Linked DNA regions of Homo sapiens: region 1 is linked to region 2. Evidence: promoter capture Hi-C in 16 types of primary human blood cells and fetal thymus (Javierre and others, 2016). All regions are on one chromosome and are shown on one strand. Each heading gives the region's core, a stretch centred on a gene start or on the middle of the fragment in contact. The rest is flanking DNA. Distances are from core to core; before and after follow the strand shown.

Region 1 (2,700 bases), core at 73-2,572, 1.3 Mb after region 2:
GAGAGGAGGGAGGAGGCGCGCCGCGCCATGGTGTCCTGCGCGGGGCCAGGGCCAGGGCCGGGGCCGGGCCAGGCCGGGCCATGAGCCGCGCCGGGAGCTGGGACATGGACGGGCTGCGGGCAGACGGCGGGGGCGCCGGTGGCGCCCCGGCCTCTTCCTCCTCCTCATCGGTGGCGGCGGCGGCGGCGTCAGGCCAGTGCCGCGGCTTTCTCTCCGCGCCTGTGTTCGCCGGGACGCATTCGGGGCGGGCGGCGGCGGCGGCAGCGGCGGCTGCGGCGGCGGCGGCGGCAGCCTCCGGCTTTGCGTACCCCGGGACCTCTGAGCGCACGGGCTCTTCCTCGTCGTCGTCCTCTTCTGCCGTTGTAGCGGCGCGCCCGGAGGCTCCCCCAGCCAAAGAGTGCCCAGCACCCACGCCTGCAGCGGCCGCTGCAGCGCCCCCGAGCGCTCCAGCGCTGGGCTACGGCTACCACTTCGGCAACGGCTACTACAGCTGCCGTATGTCGCACGGCGTGGGCTTACAGCAGAATGCGCTCAAGTCATCGCCGCACGCCTCGCTGGGAGGCTTTCCCGTGGAGAAGTACATGGACGTGTCAGGCCTGGCGAGCAGCAGCGTACCGGCCAACGAGGTGCCAGCGCGAGCCAAGGAGGTATCCTTCTACCAGGGCTATACGAGCCCTTACCAGCACGTGCCCGGCTATATCGACATGGTGTCCACTTTCGGCTCCGGGGAGCCTCGGCACGAGGCCTACATCTCCATGGAGGGGTACCAGTCCTGGACGCTGGCTAACGGGTGGAACAGCCAGGTGTACTGCACCAAGGACCAGCCACAGGGGTCCCACTTTTGGAAATCTTCCTTTCCAGGTAGGGGCGATGGAGAAAAGGGACCGACACGAGGGAGGGGGAGAGAGAAGGAGAAAAGAAAGGACTAAGAGTATGCGCCCCTACTTGGGAGTGGGAGTTGTGCCTGTGCTCCACACGTGACCAGGGTTAACCCAGTGGAAATTTGTCCAGTTCGTGTGAAATCTGTAAATTCCTCCTCTGATTTCAACTGCCTCCGTCACTGCCCTTTCTTTCCTGTGTGCAGCGCAGACACGTTTTTCTCCTAAAGTTGAGAGTCTCTGCGTGCCCTTTCCTTGGGCCTCTCCCTTTTCTCCTAAAGAGAACTTTTTCCTAAGAAACCTGACAGAGTTGGGTCCCCCCATTTTCAAAGACATCACTGCCCCAAGATGACTACTAAAGCTTGTTAGATCAAGCTCACGAACTCCTAACATAGGAACGCGGGAAATCAAAATTTGAGCAAAAGACCTGAGTTGGTATGTGTCTATGTATGTAAGTTTGTTTTTATACAACCGACATTTGCAGAAACTGTCCTCATGAACGTGCCCAATAACCACACCATAAAATTGCAAGCTTGTTAAGATGCCGGTTTGAGAAACTATGATAATCAATCAAATTAACCATTGTTGTTAAGTGCAAATAATCCTTCTTTAATAACAGGTAAGTGTTATGTCTATGTACATAATAAAGACCAAACAGCATGGCATTTTTTAAAAATTTCCTGCACCCCTGCAAACGCACACACACACACACACACACACACACACACAATCCTCAGCTAGGTGCTCCGAATATCCCAGCCTAATTTTTCTTGTGCTTTTGTTTGTATCAGGGGATGTGGCTCTAAATCAGCCGGACATGTGCGTCTACCGAAGAGGGAGGAAGAAGAGAGTGCCTTACACCAAACTGCAGCTTAAAGAACTGGAGAACGAGTATGCCATTAACAAATTCATTAACAAGGACAAGCGGCGGCGTATCTCGGCTGCTACGAACCTATCTGAGAGACAAGTGACCATTTGGTTTCAGAACCGAAGAGTGAAGGACAAGAAAATTGTCTCCAAGCTCAAAGATACTGTCTCCTGATGTGGTCCAGGTTGGCCACAGACAGCTTAGAAGCCATTCGGTTGTCTCCAAAAGGCCTTTGGAAAGACTTGAATATGTATTTAATTCCCCCCACCCCCTGCCAATGGTGGCAAATTTTGTGAATTGTTTTTCTCTCTTCCCCTTATCTGGCTCTAAAACCTTCTGCTGCCCAACCTGACTTTGTAGTTCTGATTTTTACTTGTTTATTATTGGTTTTGTTCTTGCCTAGGGTTTTTAAAATATCTGTTTTTAATGTTTTGTTTCTCCCTCCAGGCCAGTATAAAGGGACTTGAAGTATTTTTTAATAATCCGCCCCCCAATGAACTTCAGAAGTGCCATTCTGATTTAAGGGTTTTTTTAAAAAATTACTTTATTTGTTCATTCCCAGCACTGATTATCTTCATAATCCATTAGGACAGAATGGTTTTCAGTCGTTCATATCCTGTAATTAGGTAATTGAATCATTAGCTCTCAGCAGTTGCCCTGAGGCAAGTGGAAAGGCAGGCAGTGCTCTGGGGTCACCGAGAAAGTCTAAAAACAGGAGGCTGAAGGTACTGTGATGGCTTTAAAAATGGCCACCTTATTAAATAGGGATTGTATCAATATTGAAATGAAGACAATCTTTCCAACTTTGGGTGTTTCACTTGCTGTTTTAATTGTTTGTTTTTAACACTTTGTAGGTTTGTGTTTTCATAATCTTTAATTTGAAACTCATGTGTCCTCATGGATCGTGGATGCCTTCATTTCTTGAGCTCTCAATGCAGACATTTAAATGGCTGC
Region 2 (2,700 bases), core at 185-2,684:
AAGTGACCTTGGGCAGGTCAGCTTTAGTTTCCTTGTAATAAAAAATTGAGGATGTTGGACTGCCTGATCTAGCTCTAAATTTCTATAAAACACCCATGGAAATCAATGCCAGCAAACTCGAGATTTGACCTAAATACATATCACATACTTCTTTAATAGCTAATCATGCATTTTTGGTTAGCAATAACCAAAATCCTAAGAGATCTCTTAAGGATGTTTACATTAAAGCATATCATTTAAGAATTTTCCTGTGACTGTGGTTTTGCGTGCACGCATGTGTGTGCACGCGCGCGCACACACACACACACACACACACACACATCAGGCCAGCTTTGGCTGGACAGAGTCCAAATCCCACATGATATAATTTATCTGAGTTTAGGCTCTTTCACTCAACTCTGATATTGAAAAAAATTAATAATAAAGCTTTTTGCCTCTTGACCAGAAGGCCTGTGTTTTTCAGAGCAATATTGGAAATGAAAAATCACAGGATGTCAGCCACCTTGTTTCTCAGTTGGGATGATATCACCAGTAAACTTTTATGTGAAGCAATCAGCAAACATCTCCTGTTTCCCTCTAGCGGAAGTCTGGGATTCAGGATGGTGTTTCAGCTGCTGTGTTAGGACACATTCCAGAGTAGAATGCAGGTCAAATGCTGTGCAAGGTTTTATAGTTTCAATTCAAACCCAAACCTATATATAGTAACATCTTAAAAAAAAAAAGTAGGTAGGAATGTATTCATATGGAATTTTTTTTAACTTCAGAAATTTTGAAAAAATTAAAAAATATTTGTCTCTGTGGAGAGAGTTTAGTTATGATTATTAACTGGTTTCTATCTCCAGCACATGTAGCTGTCAATCAGTCCTCTTTATTATTAGAATTCTCCTGGAGCAGTAAAGGGACTTGTTAACTCCATTGTATGTGATTATAAGGCACTGTTCTAAGTATCCATAGTTGTTTAAATATGAACCCCCGGACACTACCATGATCCACAAGTGGTCCAGGTCCTACAAATGGTGCCGAGTGTTCAGAGGGATGAGTCGGCTGCCAGGCATGATGGAGGGAGAGACATGCGTGTCTATCTTGAAGTCTTTGACCAGGCAGTTTCTATTTTAATTAGATAAGGCAAACTAAAAATCTTTATCCAAAAACTCAATCAAGCTAACATCAGGAAGAAACTGACAGAGCAGCCCCTGGTTGGGGAGGCTCTGCCATTCTGTGGTCTCATCAAAGAAGCAAGACTTTGATTTGGGGGCCTCCAGCACTTTAGCCTCAAAGGAGAGCCCTCTCCCCACCCCTGACCCCAGCACTTACCTGAGCAAAGGCTAAAGAGCAGGAGGAGAGGCCAGGGCTCCATGGGCTACCGGAGCTTGTGTGGACCAGGGCAGAGTGGTGGCCTGTGCTTCTCACTGGCACTCTGGCTGGGTGCTTGTCTGCTGGAGGGTTTGGAAAGCGAGTCGGCTCACTAGAGCTATTGTTTTACACCACCTGTTTGTGGGAGCGACAGCTGGGCTGCCCTCAGCCCTGGAGCCCAGGGAGTTACTGGGACTGTACACCATTACAGATATGCCTCACTTTACACAATTGCTTACCCTTGACAAGCTGAGTATGAACTGCATTATATTTTAAATGCACCAGTAGTCAGATCTTAATGAAAAAAAAATGTATAGGAAGGAAGGAATTATTTTAAATGGTGAGCAAACTGCCTCTCTTTTGTGTAAACCAGAACCTCATCTCTGTGGGTTGACTTGATTAGGGTCATTTGGTCTGAGTAGATAGTCAGCTGTTTGTCCTAAACCACAAAAATCCACATTCTGCAAACATGGCTTCAGTTTCATTTCCTCTGCTTCAGTGTTAGGCTGAGGGTGCCGGGGGCTTTTCTGACTGCCTGGATTTCAGAAAAGTGTAGCTGGTGTTGAGTCTGCTGCTGGGAAGCCCCCACGTTGATTGGGTTTGGTTTTTAACAAAGACAGCTTCTTCCATAAAACTGGCTTTACTGGCCCCCAGAGTGGCTGTTCCAACCCCTGCCTCTGTATCAGGCAATACCTATCCCACACGAACCATTAGCTGGAGCAAATTGCCCACGTCCTATGCACTGTGATTCAAGCGAAGAGTAATTATTGGGAAAAAGTGTCCCACCGCATCAGCAGTCGTTCCGGGTTCCTGCCTCCTTCCATCCGTCCCTCTGCCTACTCTCACTCAGGGAAGCAAAGAGCAGAGTGGTTCAGCTTTTCAATTATCTTGCTTGAAAAACATCCTAAAAACCAGCAGTTAGTAATTTCTCAGTCTGAGAAGTATTGTTACCCTAGCTGTGCTTCTTTGCAGGGTGTGAGGTGAGTTCCCAGAAGGAGACAGTTACTTAAAGGTACCCTGCCTGTTCCTTCCAGGCCTCCTTCCCACATGGAACTAGGTGAGAAAGGTCCTCTCACCTCAAGCCCACAACAACATCCTGACAGATCCTCTCATTCCAGTGGATCCAAACAAATCATTAGAGAAGGGGCTTGGAGGGTAGAGGAGAGAGCTGCAAGCTCATACTATTTATATTTTTTGTTTAAACTGTGGGAGATCAGTTAACTGTTTGCTAAAAAAAAATTTGGTTCTCTCCCTTCCATGGAATAGCCCCGTGGCAGAAATACAACCCCCACCCTCTGACCAGCCCCTTCCATCTAAATGGAGCCATGGGACTGACCTCTGGCCAGT

Evidence for each region. The method cuts DNA at HindIII sites, captures the fragments that hold promoters and counts their contacts. A CHiCAGO score of 5 or more calls a contact.
Region 1: a contact is called between a fragment that was not itself captured here and the fragment with the promoter of CHRNA1 in region 2, in 1 of 17 cell types (M2 macrophages). The highest score is 6.5, in M2 macrophages.

Annotation. Positions count from the first base shown.
Region 1 is chr2:176,092,811-176,095,510 of GRCh38, forward strand. It overlaps HOXD13 (homeobox D13), which reads left to right. Exons shown (of 2, transcript NM_000523.4): 1 at 1-861; 2 at 1,670-2,700. The coding sequence starts at 81. The coding sequence ends at 1,920. Among named protein-coding and RNA genes, the nearest start is that of HOXD13, 1.4 kb to the left of the region's middle. The HindIII fragment of the contact is 171 bases long and covers 1,238-1,408 here.
Region 2 is chr2:174,763,038-174,765,737 of GRCh38, forward strand. CHRNA1 (cholinergic receptor nicotinic alpha 1 subunit) reads right to left here and starts at 1,435. Exons shown (of 9, transcript NM_000079.4): 1 at 1,315-1,435. The coding sequence starts at 1,357. RefSeq lists an enhancer at 1,436-1,935. The HindIII fragment of the contact is 3,214 bases long and covers 425-2,700 here.